Linked DNA regions of Homo sapiens: region 2 is linked to region 1. Evidence: promoter capture Hi-C in 16 types of primary human blood cells and fetal thymus (Javierre and others, 2016). All regions are on one chromosome and are shown on one strand. Each heading gives the region's core, a stretch centred on a gene start or on the middle of the fragment in contact. The rest is flanking DNA. Distances are from core to core; before and after follow the strand shown.

What was found. Contacts are between HindIII fragments. The CHiCAGO score rates a contact against its expected background, and 5 or more counts as called.
Region 2: a fragment that was not itself captured here is called in contact with the fragment with the promoter of WWC3 in region 1 in 2 of 17 cell types (neutrophils and monocytes); the score reaches 6.7 in neutrophils.

What each region holds. Positions count from the first base shown.
Region 1 is chrX:10,012,273-10,016,729 of GRCh38, forward strand. It overlaps WWC3 (WWC family member 3), which reads left to right and starts at 2,982. Exons shown (of 24, transcript NM_015691.5): 1 at 2,982-3,401; 2 at 3,404-3,586. The coding sequence starts at 3,307. RefSeq lists enhancers at 1,097-1,980, 1,981-2,864 and silencers at 2,685-2,854, 2,895-2,954. The HindIII fragment of the contact is 8,733 bases long and covers 1-4,457 here.
Region 2 is chrX:9,878,478-9,882,754 of GRCh38, forward strand. All of the region lies in intron 2 of SHROOM2 (shroom family member 2), which reads left to right. Among named protein-coding and RNA genes, the nearest start is that of CLDN34, 87 kb to the right of the region's middle. The HindIII fragment of the contact is 3,249 bases long and covers 1-3,128 here.

The DNA.
Region 1 (4,457 bases), core at 1,732-4,231:
AGCCTGATCCCATGGGGGATCCCATGGGGAGCTCTGGGGTGTCAAGGGCATTCGAGTTTGTGTCACCAAGGCAAGGAAACTGGACGGTCAGCTCCTGGGGCTGGGTGTAATCTCTCAGACATCTGTGTTAATGAAGGGTCATCTTCACAATACTCCAAAAGAAGGGAGCCCGCCCCAGCATCTGCTATACAAGTAAACAATTTCATGACAGCAGCTCCATGTGCCAAGGGGCAAGAGCTCAGAACTTGGGAATCTGAACATCTGAGCCTCAGTTTCCTCATCTGAGGCACCTTCCCTTTGGTCTCACAAAGCCTCCCACGAGTCCCCAAATTGAGGTTGGCACCCTGGCTTCATTTGTTGACAAGTGACAATTGTATTACAAGGGCCTATTTCTATGTTTAGTCCCCAAGGGAGTGCAAGCTGAAGCACAGACTATCCTCTTCCCTGCAGCATGCCTACACGCAGCACAGTGTCTGCGCGTGGGAGGTCCACTATTTGCTGCCCGCCTGAACGGGTAGAAATCTTTCACCTTCAGTGAAGACTCCTCGGCGCTGGCCTCTTTGAGCTCCTAATTGGATGCAGTTTCCCCCACTCCTTGCTCTACCTGATGCTTTTTTCATCTTGCCTTTCCTTCTGAGTCCTTTGATGTGTGGTGTATGTGTTCTCCTCTTTCCACTCTCTCTCTGCAGAAGTCGGTTTCACTCCAATACGCCCCAGCCCCATTCAAAGTACTTTCGAGTGATAGATTTGTGTCCAGATTTGTGAGATTCTAAAAGGACCAGGTGACAGGGAGGGTGGAAATGCAGCTTCAGAACGGCCATGTTGGGTGGTAAGGTAAGAAGGCAGTGGCAGCCCCACTGGCGATAAATCATGCCAATCGGAAGGGAAGATGTCAGAGCAGGGACACTCAGCACTTGGGGCATTCCCTGGCACATGCGACATCACAAAATATGTGCTTTTTTGACCCTCCCACTCTTTCCCTTGGACATGTAATAATCACACATGTTTAAAAGGACTCATGCGGTGGAATTTCTCACATAGAACATTCAGGTAGGGGTAGATAGATACTTGGGGAGCAAGAAAGTTTCTGTGTTGTAGTAGGAGGAGGGAGAGGAAAGACCTTCCTTGGATAGTTTTTTGGACGTCGCTATACCTTCACAACTTCACATTCTTCTTCTTCTTCTTCTTCTTTTTTTTTTTTTTTTTTTTTTTTTGAGACAGGGTCTCTGTTCCATCGCCCAGCCTGGAGTGCAATCGTGCAAACACGGCTCACTGCAGCCTCGACCTCCCTGGCTCAAGTGATCCTCCCACCTCAGCCTCCCAAAGTGTTGGGATTAAAGGTGTGAGCCACCGAGCCCGGCCCCACATTCTTCTAATTTTTTTTTTGTTGTTGTTGAGATGGAGTCTCACTCTGTCGTCCAGGCTGGAGTGCAGTGGCGCGATCTCAGCTCACTGCAACCTCCCAGGTTCAAGCAGTTCTCCTGCCTCAGCCTCCCGAGTAGCTGGGATTACAGGCGTGCGCCACCATGCCCGGCTAATTTTTGTATTTTTAGTAGAGACGGGGATTTCACCATGCTGGCCAGGCTCGTCTCGAACTCCTGACCTCGTGATCCGCCCGCCTGGGCCTCCCAAAGTGCTAGGATTACAAGCGTGAGCCACCGCGCCCGGCCCATTCTTCTTTTTTAAAACAACCTTTCCCCTCATAAAAGTAATATTACCATTTTACAAAAAATTGGAAGGCAAATCATTTTTAAAAATCCCGCCAAAGGAATGCAAACTCTTGTGAGCATTTCAGGACATTTTCCTCCAGTCTCTTCCCCTGTGTATCTGGATTTCAATCAGGCTCTACCAGATATTTTTGTATCACTGTAACTGTTTAAAAATCTCCCTGATACTGTCCTGCATTTCCTGGCATAACGTGTTGCGGCTGTGGGTCTGGGGCACGAAGTAGGTGGGAGATTTAGAGCAAGACACAGCCCCAACTCTGGAGCTTCAGCTTCCCCAGCTGGGAGCCAGTGAAACAGAAGTTCCCGTCTAGGCTGAAAGTTTTAGGAGTTGACCCGGCTTCCTCCCCAGCAATGGTCTACTTGGGTCTCCGCTCAAACGATCAGACCCCACAAACCGGATGAAGCGCTCAGGGAAGGTCAAGGAACTCCCGCCTAGTGTGGGCCCCCAGGTTAGCCCTTCTAGGGCTGTCCTGGCGGGGACGCAAAGTGGCCACCTGCCCAGCTGCCCGCTTCCAGAGGCGTCCTCCCTGCGCCGCCCGAGAGGACCGGCCGCGGGCTCCCCCAGCTCCTCAGCTCCCTCGGCCCCGCCTTCAGGGGCTTTTCCCACCTTCGCGGGACCAGACGGGTTGTGTGGGAGACCGAGGGCGCAGCCTCCCGCCAAGTGCGCAGAGGGTCTCCAGACAGCCAGAGCCCGGGAGCGGGTGAAGGGAGGGCACTGCCCGCTCTCTCGGGAATTGTTTGCGCCCGAGGAGTCACCCCAGGCAGGCCGCGCCCGCAGTCCGGGTAGGGCGTCGTCCTCCCCGCCCGCCTTCCTCTACGCGGGGGCCCGGGGGCGGACTGACGCGGCGGCGCCCATCCTGGCCTCCATGCGGTTTCCCGAGGCCGGAGGAAGGTGGCGGAGCGGGAGGGAGAGAGCGAGGAGCGCGCGGAGAGGGAGGACGGCGGAGGGGGAGGAGCAAGCGGAGGGGTGGGGGTGGGGTCGAGGAGCCGAGCGCCGAGGAGGACCCCGAGGGAGACTGGGGGCGGAGCAGCCGGCGACGGAGAGGCGCGGAGGACGCGGGGCCGGGGGAGGCGGAGCAGCGGGAGTGGGTGGAAAAGCAGAGGCGGCGGGAGGAGCGGGAGCCTCCGTGGGAGATTCGGGAGGAGCAGCCGGCGTGGGTGGAGCCGCCGGCGTGGGAGGAGCCGCGGGGCCTGGGTGAGAACGGGGCGGGACGGCCGGAGGCGGGGCCTGCGAACGCCCTGCCCCTGCTCGCCCGGGCCGCGCCGAGGAACGAAGATGGCCGGGCGCGCCGCGGGAACGGAGGGGCGGCCGGCAGCGGCGGCGGCGGCGGCGGCGGCTCCCGGGCTGTGACTTCGCGCGCGGCGGCCACCCGGGCTACCTGAACGGAGTGGGCGGCGCGGGCAGCGGCTTGCTAGGGCGGGCGGGCGGACGCCGGTGCACGGGCGCCGGGCGGAGGATGCGCCAGGAGCGGCGGGCGGCTCCCCGCGGCCGCCCCCGCGCCCCGGGCGCCGGGCCTTAGTGCTGGCGGAGGAGGCGGCGCGCGCGGGGCGGCCGGGCGGCGGCGGGGCCCGCGCCGTCATGCCTTGGCTGAGCGGCGGCCGGCGGCGACGGCGGGGACAGCCGCGCGAGGCCCCGCGGGAGCCGCCGCCTTCTGCGCAGCCCCAGCGGGAACCGCGCCGCCGGCGCCCCCCGCCGCGGTCCCCACGCCCCCAGCTCCTTCCGCGCCGCCGCCGCGGGCCCGGGAGAGCGCCGAGCTGCCGCTGCCCGCCGGCTGGGAGGAGGCGCGAGACTACGACGGTCGCGTCTTTTACATTGACCACAACACGCGCCAGACGTCGTGGATCGACCCCCGCGACCGGTAAGCGGGCCGGCTGGGGGCGCCAGACCCGGCGCGGGCGCTACGACCCGGGCCGCCGGCCGGCGCCACCGCGGATGCGCTGGGGACACGCCCCGCCCAGCGCGGGGCCGCCGCCGAGAGCCCCCGGGCCCGGGCAGAGCTCGGAGCGCCTCCATCCCCGGAACCAGGGGACTCCCTGGAGTGCTCCGGTCCAGGCTACGATCGAGGCGCCCCCATCCCTTGGGCCCAGGGAGAGGATCGGAGACACCAGGAGGCCCTCGGGGCTGGGTGAAGATCTTTGGTTCCGGGGGTCCGGGAGAGGATCCACCCTCCCAATACCCCGACTCCCAGGGCTCTGACCAAGAATGGAGGTGCCCCTTCTCCAGGCCTCGAGCCCTCTGAGCGCCGAGGCCGGCCGCCTACAGGTCCCCCGCCGCTGGGCGGACCCTCTCATTCGGTTCCCTCACGTCACCCGCTGTCCGGCGCCTGGGAACTGGGCTCCTGGAATTTCCTCTCCTGGGGCTGACAGATGGCCCTCTTTTCCTTTCTCTGCGGCAGCCTCGCCCATCCCGGTCCCGGGCGTCTGCGGCCCACTGCCCCGGCCCTGGTTCTGCAGGTGTCCCCAGCCCCGCGGTGGCGAGATGAGCTGTCACCTTGGATCACAAACGTGCGCCCCAGCTTTGGGGTGCGGGTTCCCTGTCTGGCGGGTTCAGGCTGGTTTCCATCCAAAACCTGATGTCAGACGGGCCCTTGAGGGATTCCCAACCCTTTTGGAGTTGGAGAAGTCTGTTCCCAAACTCTAGTTGCTCTTTAGCGCCTTAAAACTCGTGAGTTAAAACTGTTTGAAATAGCCTTCTGTACTGCAGCCAGAATGCAATATGATTAGTCCCAT
Region 2 (4,277 bases), core at 254-2,753, 140 kb before region 1:
GAGCACTCATGTTTGCTAGGAGCTGGTTTCTTACAACATGCGTCCCGTCTTGGGCATTGCTAAGGTGCCCTGACTGCTGCTCCAAGCCCACATTGTGCTGTGCCCCCCTCTGCTGCTGGCTCCTTGGAGCTGTCCTGGAGCAGGTGGCCCTGCAGCCCTAAGGTTGATTAGCACAGATGTTCCGGGAGCTGCTACTCGCAACGGTGGCAGCAGTAAGGGGCCGCCTAAGACGTCAGCAGGTTTACACCCCCACCCCACTCCCCCAGCACCCCACCCCCTCCAGAACTACTCCTGAGGCAGAAATGGTGCATGGTCAGATGGAGGGCATGCTCCTTAGTGGGGACACTGGAGGACGTCAGGTGAAACCCATGCCTTCGAGGCTGTCTGATGTCTTTGTCTGTGATTCAGGAGTGGGTATTTCTATTCTGTGAGCATTTGGGGTCTAATGGCTGTTTGCTACTGTGCTTATTTTCTTGTTAAAACAAAGGAGACCCTGACTGGTTTAGGCTATTTTCCATTATTGTTTTTATTTCATTTATTTATTTTATTATGAGTGAAGGAAAGAAAGGAGAGAGGGAGGGAGGGAGGATGGGAAGGAAGGAAGGATGAAATCTTGCTCTGTTGCCCAGGCTGGAGTGCGGTGGCTACTGACAGGCACAATCATAGCTCACTGCAGCCTCAAACTCCTGGGCTCAAGTGATCCTCTTGCCTCAGCCTACTGAGTAGCTGGGACTACAGGTGCATGCCACCATGCCCAGCTTATTGTTTTTATTTTTTTTTATTTAATTTTATTTTTTCTATTTTTTTGAGACAGAGTCTCCTTCTGTTGCTGGAGTGCAGTGGCAAGATCTCGGCTCACTGCAACCTTCGCCACCCGGGTTCAAGCGATTCTCGTGCCTCAGCCTCCCCAGTAGCTGGGACTACAGGCGTGTGCCACCACACCTGGCTAATTTTTGTATTTTTAGTAGGGATGGGGTTGCGCCATGTTGGCCAGGCTGGTCTTGAACTCCTGGCCTCAAGAAATCTGCCCCACTTGGCCTGCCAAAGTGCTGGGATTACAGGCGTGAGCCACTGCACCCGGCCAGCTTATTGTTTTTATTAAGTAAAATCAGGAGAAAAAAGAAAACCACATAGATCAGAATTGTTTTATTTTGGGGAAAGTTACTTCTATTGGGGTTTTGCCTTAGTGTGTGGTTTAGCTAATTTAATCAGATGAATCAATGTTTGCAAATAGTGATGGTTTCTAATATAGTAAGACTTACAGAGAATGTTTAGCTTATTTTTGTGTTGTTTTGGGGTCTCTGGAGGACCTGTATGTGCTATGCAGTGGGATCCACACTGTACAGGTTAAGTTTATTTTGAGGTTCAAGGAATTGAGAAGTTAGCATTAGCCTTAACGATGAAGTTTAAATGACTTTTATTTTTTTATCGGTTCCACAAATGATGTAGACTTTTATTTTTTAAAACAGAGCAGCTGTAATGAGATCCACCAAATTGAAAGCCCTGAGCTTTAGGAGAAAAGGTTGATCTACACTGGTTGAATTCCCAGTTTGCTATTGGCTTGGAAAGAAGAGTGTTCTGGTGAGATTTTGAGAGCAGACTCTGGGAATGTCCTCTCTTGAGACTTGAGGGCGCAGGGATCTGGGGACAGGTCTTGGTGTCTGTCATCTGGGAGGTAGTGTCCTGCGAGAGGCAGCAGCCCAGCAGACACCAAGGGCCCCTGGGATCACGTGCTGACCTCTTAGTGGGCTTAGCAGGGCAGGAGGCCCACATGTGGCTTCTGTCCAGTGTGCCACTCGCCCTTGCAGTCACCCCTAAAGGACAGGTAGATGAGGCCTTTGCAGGTCGAGACGTCCCCAAAGGCTCTGTCTGTCCCACATGGAGCACACTGAGCGGGTCCCCTCTCTGTCCATCCCGTCCTTGGCTGTGGTGGCACTGGCACGCTGTGGCATGCTCTGCCCTGCACTGGCCGCTTTGTCCAGATGGAGACAAACGTGCTTTCAGTGTGTTGCCAAGGGGCAGGGAGAGGTGATATTGGCAGAGCCATGAGCGATGGCTGCCCGGCAGGTCATAAAGGCGGAGTAAATGTCGCCTCTTCTTAGAACTGTCACCTCAAGCCCGGTTACCACTAACACCCATTGGTTCCAAGGTGGGAGAGTTTGGGGGAAGAAATGAAGTACCCGACACAGCCTTGGCCCTTTCTACAAAGTGAGGGGCATACCTTATCTGTAACAAAAGCCTGTTTTTTTTGTTGTTGTTGTTTGTTTGTTTTAATGTCACTTGCTAATTTATTCACACAAAGAAAATGCTCCATAATGAAAACAACTTCATCCCATGTCTCCCTCCCACCCACACACACTCAAACCCCTCCTGTCCCCAACTGCAAGATGCGTTCCTACGTCTTGGCTATCTGAAGGTACTTTTAGAACCAAATCCTCATAAAAACCATTTAGAATAGTTGCCTGATAACTTGGTTTTATTGTTAAAGAAAGCCTGTTTGTGGCAGTTAGAGTCCAAAGGCCTTTGGAATGGAATGGAGTGGCATGTTTAAGGAGAGTGCTCAGAAGGCTTTGCTGAATGGTAGTCATGACAGCATTGATGGGGAGGTGAAGTGGGCTGATTAAATAACTCGAGTAGTTCCGACGTCCAGACCATGTTTTGGTAAGGTAGCCAGCGTCATGGACAGGGCAGGTAGCAACAGTTCTCTGCACCACGGAGGGTAGTTGTACCATTTACTCTGCTGGTTGTGGGTGTGCTTGCCTTTAATAGTACGGAAAGCAAGGTCATTGGTCTGCAGTTATAGTAAATGACAAAGAAGAGGAAGGAATCAGATCTTTCTTCAGTGATTTCACTACTTTGATTTGCCAACTATGACATGGTGGTTTATTAAATGTAAAGACACAGAGGAATGTTCTCTGGCTCAATGCCCTTGCAAAGAAAAGGATGCCTGCCACCCTCTCGGTGAGATGATAAGTGATCAAATAAGGGAAGATTTTTATCAGCCATTCGGCATATGTCGATCCCATGTGAGTGGACGTCTGGCTTACCATAGTGACCACATGTGCAGTGGTATTTAATAGTTCTCTGAATGTGTATAGGATCTGTAAAAAGTTTGGAATAAAAGCACAAGCTTCCTTTGGAGAAATGTGATTTAGTTGTAATAGCATTTCACTACTGCCACATTCAGTTCACCTGTGGTGGTAGTGCCTGTAACTTTGCATTCAGAGGAATTCGTGGACCTTCCTCCCTCTGCCTCCCCGATTTTGCCACTGAGTTTCATCTCTTTTCATGGTCTGGGCTCAATGTTTCTTTGCTGTGCTGTGACTGTAAAGTCTCTTTTATTGGTTACTTTCCCTAAACCTCGTATCTCTTCTCTATACCTTGGTTTTTGTTTTTCTATGAAGAGTATCTTCTTAACTCTTCTAGTACCTTGAGTAACCATGGGCTCTGGGAAGGGAATTTGAGGACAAATTGAGTAAAAATACAGTAAATTATTATGGGCTTTATGTAATGAGCAGAACATCAGAAAGGGCTAGGTGGGGATATTGTTTGCTGAGCTCTAGTGGGCAGAATTCCACAAAGGGCTAGGGGAGATTGTTTCTTGAAATCTCTTTCCTTTCCCTTTGCGTCTATTTACATGGCTAGAGCGCTTTATACATAGCATAGCATTTAGAGAACAGCAGTCTGCAATCCCTTGTTGCTTTTTTTTTTTTTTTTTTGGTATGGCTTTTGCCATGTGTATACTGATATGTTGACTCAACAAGTTAAACTTTTTGTGTCTTTTTTCTTATATCCGTGGTGTTCATCCTTAGGGCTATATAAAACGAGTCATATTAATGACTGCACACTTGAATGTGCTGAGTTTCTTTGCCAACAAATTCATTCTGTTGAAACATAGCCAGGAAATTGTGTGGGTGCCCTTTTTAAAACATCAAGCTGAATGAAATGATGATTTGACACCTGGGGCATATATATGGTTGAACACAAGTGGTTTGGATACTGGGACAGCGATCGTCTTTTTTTTTCCTTTTCTTTCCAACAGTAATGGGTTTATAGAAATGAACATTACAGAGGTTAATGGGAAAAACAAGTCATTCGGGTCTGCTCCACTCCTCTGTTCTGTGCCGCTCGGTTCTGCCTGTGGCTTCTGTGGCATTCCTCTGCAGTCTTTTCTGCCATAGGACCCAGGTTGAACACCAGAGGTGGAGGCCAGAGGCGGGGCACGCTCTTGCTAGGGGTGAGGCAGGCAGGCTGGCCAGGTGGAGAGCAACTCTGGG